Linked DNA regions of Homo sapiens: all the other regions are linked to region 2. Evidence: promoter capture Hi-C in human tissues and cell types (Jung and others, 2019). All regions are on one chromosome and are shown on one strand. Each heading gives the region's core, a stretch centred on a gene start or on the middle of the fragment in contact. The rest is flanking DNA. Distances are from core to core; before and after follow the strand shown. Region 1 overlaps MMP24-AS1-EDEM2 (MMP24-AS1-EDEM2 readthrough). Region 2 holds the start of GGT7 (gamma-glutamyltransferase 7). Region 3 overlaps MMP24-AS1-EDEM2 (MMP24-AS1-EDEM2 readthrough).

What was found. Contacts are between HindIII fragments. The study calls those that stand out against the background at their distance.
Region 1: a contact is called between a fragment that was not itself captured here and the fragment with the promoter of GGT7 in region 2, in 1 of the 25 tissues and cell types used here (dorsolateral prefrontal cortex).
Region 3: a contact is called between a fragment that was not itself captured here and the fragment with the promoter of GGT7 in region 2, in 2 of the 25 tissues and cell types used here (aorta and pancreas).

Annotation. Positions count from the first base shown.
Region 1 is chr20:35,180,360-35,184,475 of GRCh38, reverse strand. The region is part of intron 4 of MMP24-AS1-EDEM2 (MMP24-AS1-EDEM2 readthrough); the gene reads left to right. It also overlaps a transcript of PROCR not described here. Among named protein-coding and RNA genes, the nearest start is that of PROCR, 10 kb to the right of the region's middle. The HindIII fragment of the contact is 9,419 bases long and covers 1-4,116 here.
Region 2 is chr20:34,870,748-34,874,556 of GRCh38, reverse strand. It overlaps GGT7 (gamma-glutamyltransferase 7), which reads left to right and starts at 1,701. Exons shown (of 15, transcript NM_178026.3): 1 at 1,701-1,910. The coding sequence starts at 1,742. RefSeq lists a silencer at 1,530-1,819. The HindIII fragment of the contact is 17,400 bases long and covers 1-3,809 here.
Region 3 is chr20:35,199,885-35,203,817 of GRCh38, reverse strand. All of the region lies in intron 4 of MMP24-AS1-EDEM2 (MMP24-AS1-EDEM2 readthrough), which reads left to right. It also overlaps a transcript of PROCR not described here. Among named protein-coding and RNA genes, the nearest start is that of MMP24, 25 kb to the left of the region's middle. The HindIII fragment of the contact is 5,449 bases long and covers 1-3,933 here.

The DNA.
Region 1 (4,116 bases), core at 1,188-3,687, 310 kb before region 2:
CCCGCCTCGGCCTCCCAAAGTGCTAGGATTACAGGCGTGAGCCACCACGCCCAGCTCCTCAATCCATCTTGAGTTGATTTTTGTATAAGGTAAAAGATGAGGATCCAGTTTCGTTCTTCTACCTGTGGCTAACCAATTATCCCAGCACCATTTGTTGAAAAGGGTGTCCTTTCCCCACTTTTATGTTTTTGTTTGCTTTGTCAAAGATCAGTTGGCTATAAGTATTTGGGTTTATTTCTGGGTTCTCTATTCTGTTCCATTGGTCTATGTGCCTATTTTTATACCAGTATCATGCTGTTTTGGTGACTATGGCCTTATAGTATAATTTGAAATCAGGTAGTGTGATGCCTCCAGATTTGTTCTTTTTGCTTACTCTTGCTTTGGCCATGTGGGCTCTTTTTTGATTCCATATGAATTTTAGAATTGTTTTTTCTAACTCTGTGAAGAATGATGGTGGTATTTTGATGGGGACTGCGTGAATTTGTAGATTGCTTTTGGCAGTATGGTCATTTTCACAATATTGATTCTATCCATCCTCCTATAGCCATTCTTGATGGTATGAAGTGGTATCTCATGGTTTTGATTTGCATTTCCATAATGACTATAACGATGTTGGGCATCTTTTCATGTGCTTATTGGCCACTGGTGTATCTTCTTTAAGAAATGTCTAAAATTTACTCTGCTTTTTCCTATTTTCATTATTGAATCTGTTCTGTCTATCTTTCCTATCTGGGCATGGTCATATCTCACCAATTCACAAATACCATGTTTCTCCCCTAGATTCCTCTGATTCCTGCAGTTTTAGTAGAGGAGAGAAAGCATAAATCCTAGAACACAAAGGCACGGGTTTGAATCCTAGCTCTGATACTATATTAGTCAATTCTTGTGCTGCTATACTGGAATACCTGCAAGTGGCTAATTTATAAAAGAAAAGAGGTTTATTTTTGACTCACACTTCTGCAGGATGTACAGGAAGCATGGCACCAGCATCTTCTTCTGGTGAGGCCTCAGGAAGCTTTCAATCATGTTGGAAGGCAAAGGGGGAGCAGGCATATAAGATGAGACAGAAGGAAGCAAGAAAGAGGAGGGGAGGTCTCAGATCCTTTTAAACAACGAGATCTCATGTGTAATCTAACTGAACAAGAACTCACTCAACACTAAAGGATGGTGTTAAGCCATTCATGAGGGATCTGCCCCCATGACCCAAACACCTCCCATTATGCCCATCTCTAACAATGGAGGTCACGTTCCAACATGAGATTTGGAGGGACAAAACATCCAAACCATATCAGTTATTAACTTTCTTATTCTCCCTAAACATGTCTCCTAATCTAAAATGATTATATCTATCTTACAAGACCAAAGAGAGTATTAAATGATAAACGCAAGTTACAGAATTCCAAAAACTATATAGCAATATGTAAATGATAGCTACAAGAGTAAATCAGAGCATAACATTTTTCTTTCTTTCTTTCCTTTTTTTTTTTTTTTTTTTTTTTTTTGAGACGGAGTCTCGCTCTGTCGCCCAGGCTGGAGTGCAGTGGCACGATCTCAACTCACTGCAACATCTGCCTCCTGGGTGCAAGCTACTCTCCTTCCTTAGCCTCCTGAGTAGCTGGAACTACAGGCACGTGCCACCATGCCTGGCTAATTTTTGTATATTTAGTAGAGACGGTTTCACCATGTTGGCCAGGCTGGTCTCGAACACCTGACCTCAGGTGAACTGCCCACCTCAGCCTCCCAAAGTGCTGGGATTACAGGCGTGAGCCACCATGCCCGGCCACATAACATCACATTTTTATTTGTGTGTTTCTTCTAGTTATACAATGCATCTTGCCTTGTGTTGTTCTCTTTTGTATGTTTTATCTTCCCAAGAAAAGACTGGGCTCCTTGAGAAGGATCATATCCTAATCGTTTTGTGTCTTCCAAAGTACATAACATAAAGCCTTCTATATGGAAGTTTCTGACAAACATTTATTAAACGAGTAAATAAATTAATGATGTGAGATATAGTGAACATTTATGGGTTTTTGTTGTTTTTGCTTTTCTATTTTATTTTTCTTTTGTTCTGTTTTTTGAGCCCAGGAGGTTGAAGCTGCAGTGAGCCATGATCGTGCCACCAATTCCAGCCTGGGCAACAGACCAAGAGTCTGTCTCAAAAAAAAGATAATATATGTAGAGTTAGTAAATACAGCAGTGGCTACTGATCTCCAGGCTTCTCATTTGCATCAATTCTTTAAAATCACCTGTACCTGTTTTGGTTGCCCAGCATCTGAAATCTCTTCCTCTGTGTGAGTCTTAATGGGAGACAGGTTCTCACCTCCCACAAGAGAAGTCAAAGGTATCTAAAGTTTTCCTTTTCCCCCCTGCACTTGCAGCTAAGGCAAAAGCAACATGATCAAGGCTTGGTCATTTGGCTGCTTCCACTCAGGATATTGACTCTTGAACAAATGATGTAAAGACACAGGGTCAGAGGAGAATTCCTTTAATATGGCAGCAGCATTGGTGATGGAGGTAGTGCTTCCAGCTGTGGCATCCTTAATACCATTCCTGTGGTGTGACTTTGGCTGTGGTCCCTGGTTCTACTTTCTGAGCTTGATTATCTGGCTTTCCCATCAACTCTGAGGATTACTTAATAACCTTCCAATATACTTATTTTCCCCTTAAGTTGGCAGAATTGGTTTCTGTTGCTTGCAACTAATAATCTTAGCATACCTCTGGAGTAAGGATTTGGGGAGAATGAGAAAGCAGGAGGCGTTCCGTTTTTCCTTTATGAAATTTCTTTGTAAACTTCTCTGTTATTGCTGTTGTTGTACCACTTCCGTCATTTAAAAATATGCTTTTAAAATAAATAATCTAAGGCACAGTGGCTAAAGAGAAATGGTAGAAAATAAAATTTGAGGGGCCGGGCACAGTGGCTCACGCCGGCAATCCCAGCACTTTGGGAGGCCAAGGAGAGCAGATCATGAGGTCAGGAGTTCAAGACCAGCCTGACCAACATGGTGAAACCCCGTCACTACTAAAAATACAAAAATTAGCCGGGCGTGGTGGCACATGCCTGCAATCCCAGCTACTTGGGAGGCTGAGGTAGGAGAATAGCTTGAACCCAGGAGGTGGAGGTTGCAGTGAGCAGAGATCGCACCACTTTACTCCAGCCTGGGTGACAGAGTGAGACTCCATCTCAAAATAAAATAAAATAAAATTAAATTAAAATTAAATTAGAAAATTAGGTTGGGGCCACATTGTGCAAGGCCTTGAATGTCATTTTGAGGATTCTGAATTTAACTCAATGAGAAATTTAAAAAACAGTCCAGGCGTGGTGGCTCACGCCTGTAATCCCAGCACTTTGTGAGGCCAAGGCGGGTAGATCACTTGAGGTCAGGAGCTCAAGACCAGCCTGACCAACATGGTGAAACCCCGACTCTACTAAAAATACAAAAAATTAGCCGGGCGTGGTGGCACATGCCTGTAATCCCAGCTACTCGGGAGGTTGAGGCAGGAGAATTGCTTGAACCTGTGAGGCAGAGGTTGCAGTGAGCTAAGTTCACACTACTGCACTCCAGCCTGGGTGACAGAGAGAGACTCTGTCTCAAAACAAAACAAAACAAAACAAAAAACAAAAAACAAACAACAACAAAAAACGGAATAATGACACAATTAGATCTGTGTTTCTTACTGCCATGTAGAAGATGAATTAAAATATGGAGAAATTAGAGGCAATTTCTTAGGAGGAGGCTGCTGCCATGGTCCAGACAAGATTGAGAAAATTTCTCAATTTTGAAAGAGAGAGAGACACACACACACAAGTTGGGTTATCTGGAAGCAGAGGCTGAGACAGAGTTTGAGGTGCAAGATGCTTACCAGGGGGAAGAAGTAGGGCTGAGCTAAGAGAGAAGTCAAACGGCAATGCAGATCTGACAAAGACCCAGCCTCCCTGGCAGGGAGCTCTGGAGTGAATATTTCCAGCCCTGGCTAGCCCTTGTCAATCCAACCTATTCTCAGAGTTGTCCTGCAGTTGGCCAAAATGACCGAACTTTTATACCCCTGCCTTGCTTAGGCACCGAGTGAGGGCAGCCCTGGGATGGGCATGATCTTGTGCAGGACTGTCCTCTACAG
Region 2 (3,809 bases), core at 452-2,951:
TGGACCCTACCAGAGGACTCAAACTCCAGTGAGGAGCTGCCAACTACACTGTGGGAGTGGACATCACTGAGAAGGTGCAGACCTCATCAAGTGGGGAAGGGTCCCACCAGAGGGATTAGACCTCAGGGTAGTGTAATAGACCCTACAAACATCACTGAGGAGATAAGAACTCTCTGGGGTGGGGAAAGGCACAGACAATGGGTACACTTTTTGGTGATAGACTGTTACCCTCCCTGGGCACTCTTACCACACAGCTCTGAGTAGCCCTCTCCTTCCTATCCTCTCTCCCAAGTCCTACACCCAAACCCCAGAGCTGTTCCCGACACACTGCTTCCCCCTCCTGTCTATAGTTGCTACTGCAGCTGCTGTGTATATAGTAGATTTTTCAAGCACTTCAGGCCATCCCTGAGACTGGTCTGGGGTTGGGAAGAGAAAGGATGTGTGTATAGAGGCTTCACCAGCCCCCCTCTCTTCCTGTGGACTTCACAATGAAAGTTTGGAACAGAGACCTCGTAAAAGAAGGAACCTCCCTCATCCTTGGATATGGAGAAGTAGTACAAGCTGTAGTGTGGTTGGAATTTTGGAGTGGAGAGAGGATGGATGAGTTTGGAGGGAATGAATCTACCAGATTAAGGCAATGATGATGATGATGATGATGCCATTTATTGAGTAGGTGCCAAGCCCTATACTAATCGCTTTCCATTCTGTTACTTAATCCTCATGACAACCCTCTAAAATGGGTACTATTATTCTTTCCATTTCACAGATGGGGAAACTGATAGAGAGACTAATTGTCTTGCCCAAGATTACACAGTGTTTGAGCGGTGGCAGAATAGAACCCAGACATCCAGAATATGGAGACCTATTCCCCACCTTGCCCCACTCCTGCCCTACCATCACTACCACCACTCCTTCTTTCTCAAAGTGTCCTTTCCAGAACCACATCAAAAACTCTTAAAATGATGGTAAATATTCAGGTTCCAAGGACCTCATCCCAGCCTACTGAATCATGATCTCTGGAGTGGAATCTGGGGATCCGCTTTCAAAGATCCTAACACACACTAAAGTTTGAGAATGCGGTTGAAAGAGGAGTCAGAAGTGTCGGGGTGCGGGAAGGGATCTGAGGTCAGAGGAGGGATCTGTTGTCCAAAGAGGCGTCTGCAGTCAAAGAGGCCTGGAGATGAAGCATGGGCTGGGGTTTTCAAAAGGGTTTGGGGGTGAAGACAGAGTCTGAAGTCGAAAAAGAGGTCTAAGGTCGGAGGAGGAGTCTAAAATCGGAGGAGGAGGATCTCGGAATTCAAGGAGGGGTCTGGGGTCCGAGGAGTTTGGGGTCAGAGACAGGATCTGGGGTCGAGAGGGATTTGCGGTCAGTGAAAGGGTCTGGGGCCCGAAAAGGAAGCCTGGGATTTGAGGAGGACACTAGCTGTATTCAGGCTGGAAGGAGGAAGGGGTTTGGTCCCTGAGCTGCGTAAAGTGCAGAGCCACTGAAGTCTCGCTTGCCCCGCGCTCTCCCCTCGACCCTGCGCTGCCTTCCTGGCTGTCCATCTACACGCACCTGTGTGCCAGCTGCAGGCTGATAGCGCTGAGCAGACGGGGGCGAGTCAGACCGGGACACGGCCGAGGGCTGGGAGAGGCGCCCCCTCCCGGCTGTCGCGAAGATCAGGCCCCGCCCTCCGCCCTCCCACTCCCCCGCCGCAGCCACTTCCGGCAGGCGCTGCGCTGCTGGGGGGCGCGGGCGAGGATGGCGGCGGAGAACGAGGCCAGCCAGGAGAGCGCCCTGGGCGCCTACTCGCCAGTGGACTACATGAGCATCACCAGCTTCCCGCGGCTGCCCGAGGACGAGCCGGCGCCCGCGGCCCCGCTGAGGGGCCGCAAGGACGAGGACGCCTTTCTGGGAGACCCCGACACCGGTGAGGCCCGCTGACCCCGTCCCTGCCCTGCCTTGGGAAGTCCCCGGTCTTCCTTCTTCTGTGTCAAGCATCCACCTCCAGCTCCATCTCCTTAATTCATCCCCATCTTCTTGGATCTCTCCCTTCTTCTCCCTTGTCTCTGTTAATTATTTGGTGAGGAAGGGGGTGCATTTCTGCCTTGGAGGCGTAGGATGCGACAACGGAGAGGATGCTAGGGACTGCAGTAGAAGGGATTGGGCTTACCTTCTGGGAAGAACCAACTAACGATGAAGGAATGTTGAAGGGGAGATCCTAAGGAACCGCTGTGATCACCCAGAAGAGGGCTTTCTCTAGCCACAGAGGACAGGATAGGAGAAACCAAGTCAGAGACTGCAGCAAGAGGGATCCAATCTGTGCCTTAAGAGAAGTTCCCCACAGCCAGGGATTGTGAGAAGCAGAGGGTCTGGGAGAAGCGGAGAATCTCTTCATGTCTAGGGAGGGGTAAAGAGAATATGATTCCCCTCTGTTGGGTGTTGGGAGACGGAGGCATGGACTGCATGACCTCTCAAAAGTCCTTGGGGACTAGAACGCCTTCACTCTCCTGTGGATTACCCCACCCCTCCCTGAGCCATGGATCTGGCCGGGGTATTAGTAAGGTACTCTGCTCCCTAGGAAGCAGTCTCCAGAATTTTACTGTGTTCCCCTCAGCCCTCTGCTGGAATTGTGAGAAGTGGGGGTAAGAGAAGGAGGAGACAGGGATTGGAAGAGACCTGGGGGCAAAGAGCTCTCTGTGCATTCCTTCCCTGCTGCTCTTCCTCCTAGCCATGTGGCCCAGCTTCATCCTCCCCTCCATTCTTCATCCTTCATCCCCCATCCCTCTGTCCCTGCACGTCACTTCCTGGCATTAGAGCATCCTTCTACCTCACTCTCGCTTCCTCGCAGTGCCTGCACTTGAGCCTTGTCTCTTACCAGCCTGGCAGATGCTGCTTTTCCGGCTTGGCCCTTCCCTAGCTGCTCCCAGCCTGAAAGCCCCAAATTCTCTCCTCCTCTACACTTTCTGGTCATCTGGCCCTGACCAGCAGCCCTTGCCAACCTGACTGGACTGCACTCTGTATGGGGTGGGGGTGAGGAGATAATGAAGATGGAGTTTAGAGGTTTATGGGCGTCAAATGTCAGGGCTGCGGATCAAAACTTATTTTCCAAAGGGAGTGGAATCAGGAGGTAGCAGGGAGAGGAGTGGGAAGATGTGTCATGATGGATATCAGCCTGAAGCTAGGCCTTTTATTCAGTAGTCAGGAGTGAGACTTCTGGTCCTAATACAGCCCTGACTCACCAAGCGACAACAGGCACACCTACCCTGTCCTGGGCCTTAGTTTCCTCTTCCAGCTCAACAGAGAATGCCTGTCTCTCTTGACCTAGAGATTGGAACTGCCTGACATGTTTTCTTCTGGCCCTCTGTAAATGTCTTAGCATTTACCAAAATCTATGATTATTTATTTGTGCAATTATCTGATTACTCCCTGTCTGTAAGCCCCATGAGGGCAGGGATCATGATTGTTTTGTTCACTCTCCTTTCTCCAGCATCAAGACCTTATCCATAGGCCGGGCGCGGTGGCTCATGCCTGAGGTGGGTGGATCACTTGAGGTCAGGAGTTCAAGACCTGCCTGGCCAACATGGTGAAACCCCATCTCTACTAAAAATACAAAAATTAGCTGGGCATGGTGGTGGGTGCCTGTAATCCTAGCTACTCGGGAGGCTGAGGCAGGAGAATCACTCGAACTGGGGAGGCAGAGGTTACAGTGAGCCGAGATCACTCCACTGCACTCCAGCCTGGGTGACAGAGTGAGACTCAGTCTCAAAAAGAAACAAAAAACAAAAAACAAAACAAAATACACTGGCCGGTGTGGTGGCTCACACCT
Region 3 (3,933 bases), core at 1,366-3,865, 330 kb before region 2:
TAAAGCTATAAATGTTCCTGTACACGCTGCATTAGCTGCAACCCATAAATTTTGATATGTTTTGTTTTGATGTTCAGTCAGTTCAAATATTTTCTGATTTACTTTAAGATTTTTTCTCTGACCCATGGATTATTTAGAAGTATATTAACAATTTCTAAATATTTGAGAGTTCTCTTTTTTTTCTTTTTTTTCTTTTTTTTTGAGACAGAGTCTTGTTCTGTTACCCAGGCTGGAGTGCAGTGGTGCGATCTCAGCTCACTGCAACCTCCACCTCCTGGATTCAAGCAATTCTCCTGCCTCAGCCTCCTGAATAGCTGAGATTACAGGCGCGCACTATCACGCCCAAGAGTTCGTCTAAAAAGAAAAACAATAATAAATAAAAGTTATGTTTATACTATATTATAGTCTAATAAATGTGCAATAACATTATGTCTAATAACATTAGACATTGCATACAATGTTATGCAATGACATTTTGTATTTTTAGTAGAGACAGGGTTTTGCCATGTTGGTCAGGCTGGGGGAGTTTTCTATTATTGATTTCTTATTTAATTTTGGTATAGCCAGAGAACACCATTTATGTGGATGATCTCGGCTCACCACAACCTCTGCCTCCTGGGTTCAAGCGGTTCTCCTGCCTCAGCCTCCCGAGTAGCTGGGATTACAGGCATGTGCCACCATGCACGGCTAGTTTTGTATTTTTAGTGGAGATGGGGTTTCACCATGTTGGTCAGGCTGGTCTTGAACTCCCGACCTGAGGTGATCCACTGCCTCAGCCTCCTAAAGTGCTGGGATTACAAGTGTGAGCCACCACGCCCGGCCTTGTGTGGTTTTAATTTATTAAAAATTGTTAAAGTTTACTTTATGACCCAGAATATGATCTATCTGGGTATATGTTCTGTGGGCACTTGGAAAGAATATGTATTCTGTTGCTCTTGAGTAGAGTGTTTTATAAATGTCCGTTATATTAAACCAGTTGATAATGTTATCCAGGTTTTATATATCCTTTTTGATTTCCATCTATTTGTTTATCAGTTATTGAGAACAGAGTTATTGAAGTCTCCCAGTTATGACTGTGGATTTTTCCATGTCTCTTTTAGTTCTATCAATTTTTGCTTCATTTATTTTGGATCTTTGTTAGTTGCATACTATATTTCAGTGTTTATCTTCTTGGTGAATTGACCCTTTTATCATTATGTAACTTCCCTATATTTATATCTTTATATTTAAAATAGATTTCCTTAAACCATAAGACATTTGAGAAGTAAAAATAAAATAAAATAGCTTTCTTGCTGATAGCATATAGTCGGGTCTTGTTTTTTTCTTTTTCCAATCCGATAATCTTTGTCTTTTTTTTTTTTTTGGAAATGGAATCTTGCTCTACCACCTGGACTGGAATGCAATGACGTGATCTCAGCTCACTGCAGCCTCCACCTCCCAGGTTCAAGCAATTCTCCTGCCTCAGCCTCCCGAGTAGCTGGGATTATAGGCACCCGCCACGATGCCCAGCTAATTTTTGTATTGTTAGTAGAGACGGGGTTTCACCATGTTGGTTAGGCTGGGGGAGTTTTCTATTATTTATTTCTTGTTTAATTTTGGTATAGCCAGAGAACATGCTTTATGTGGTTTTATTAAAAATTGTTAGTTTATTTTATGACCCAGAATATGATCTATCTGGGTATATGTTCTGTGGGCACTTGGAAAGAATATGTATTCTGTTGTTCTTGGGTAGAGTGTTTTTTGTAAATGTCCATTATATTAAACCAGTTGATAACGTTATCCAGGTTTGATATATCCTTTTTGATTTCCATCTATTTGTTTATCAGTCATTGAGAATGGACTTATTGAGTCTCCCAGTTATGACTGTGGATTTTTCCATATCTCTTTTAGTTCTATCAATTTTTGCTTCATTTATTTTGGATCTTTGTTAGTTGCATATTATATTTCAGTGTTTATCTTCTTGGTGAATTGACCCTTTTATCATTATGTAATTTCCCTATATTTATATCTTTATATTTAAAATAGGTTTCCTTAACATTTGAGAAGTAAAAATAAAATAAAATGTAATAGCATATAGTTGGGTCTTGTTTTTTTCTTTTTCCAATCTGATGATCTTTGTCTTTTTTTTTTGAAATGGAATCTTGCTCTGCCGCCCAGGCTGGAATGCAATGGCATGATCTCAGTGCACTGCAACCTCCGCCTCCCAGGTTCAAGCGATTCTCATGCCTCAGCCTCCCGAGTAGCTGGGATTACAGGCATGCACCACCTTGCCCGGCTAATTTTTGTATTTTTAGTAGAGGTGGGGTTTCACCATGTTGGCCAGGCTGGTCTTGAACTCCTGACCTCAGGTGATCAGCCCACCTCGGCCTCCCAAAGTGCTGGGATTGCAGGCGTGAGCCACCGCACCCAGCCATCTTTGTCTTTTAATTGGTGTGTTTAGACCATTTACATTTTTAAAGACCATTTACATTTAATGTAGTTATTGATAAGAGTGGATTTTGGTCTACAATTTGTTATTTTTCTGCTTGTCTCCTCCATTTTTTTGCCTCTCAATGTCCCCTTTCCTGTTATATTTTGGATTATTTGAATATGTTTTATATTCCAATTTAATATATTGGTTGTCTATATCTTTTGTGGTTTTTTTTTTTTAGCTGTTGATCTAGGGATAATAATACACATACCTAATTTTAACAGTCAACTTAAAATCAATGTTTTAACACTTCAAGTAAAACACTGACATCTCACAACTACAGGCATACCTTGGAAATATTGCAGGTTCAGTTCTAGACCACTTCAGTAAAGTGAATATTGCAACAAAGTGAATCACACAAGGTTTTTGGTTTCCCAGTGCATATATAAGTTATGTTTAAGGCCGGGTGCAGTGGCTCACACCTGTAATCTTAGCAATTTGTGAGGCCGAGGCAGGTGGATCACCTGAGGTTGGGAGTTCGAGACCAACTTGGCCAACATGGTGAAACCCCGTCTCTACTAAAAATACAAAAATTAGCCGGGCATGGTGGCAACATGCCTGTAATCCCTGCTACCAAAGTGGCTTAGGCAGGAGAATCGCTGGAACCCAGGAGGTGCATATTGCAGTGAGCCAAGATTGCTACTGCACTCCAGCTTGGGCGACAGAGCAAAGAGTTCGTCTAAAAAGAAAAACAATAATAAATAAAAGTTGTGTTTATACTATATTATAGTCTAATAAATGTGCAATAACATTATGTCTAATTACATTAGACATTGCATACAGTGTTATGCAATGACATTTTGTCTAAAATGTAAATACCTTAGTTAAAAAGTACTTTGTTGCTTAAAAATCTGAACAATCATCAGAGCCTTCGGTGAGTCATAGTCTTTTCTCTGGTGGAGGTTCTTGCCTCAGTGTTCATGATTACTGACTAATAAGGGTGGTGGTTGCTGAAGATTGGAGTGGCTGTGGCAATTTCTTAAAATAAGACAACAATAAAGTTTGCATATCAATTGACTCTTCCTTCCACAAAATATTTCTCTGTAGCATGTGATGGTGTTTGATAGCATTTTACCCACAGTAGAACTTCTTTCAAAATTGGAGTCAATCCTCTCAATTCTGGCTGCTTCTTTATCAACTAAGTTTATGTAATATTCTAAATCCTTTGTTGTCATTTCAACAGTGTTTACAGTATCTTCAACAGGAGTAGATTCTATCTTGACAAACCACTTTCTTTGTTTATCCAGAAGAAGCAACTCCTCATTAATTAAAGTCTTATCATGAGATTACAGAATTCAGCCACATTTGCAGGCTTCACTTTTAATTCTAGTTATCTTGCTATTTCCACTACATCAGCAGTTCCTTCCTCCACTGAAGACTTGAACCTCTCAAAGTCATTCATGAGGGTTGGAATCAACTTCTTCCAAATTTCTGTTAATGTTGATATTTTTAACCTCCTCCCA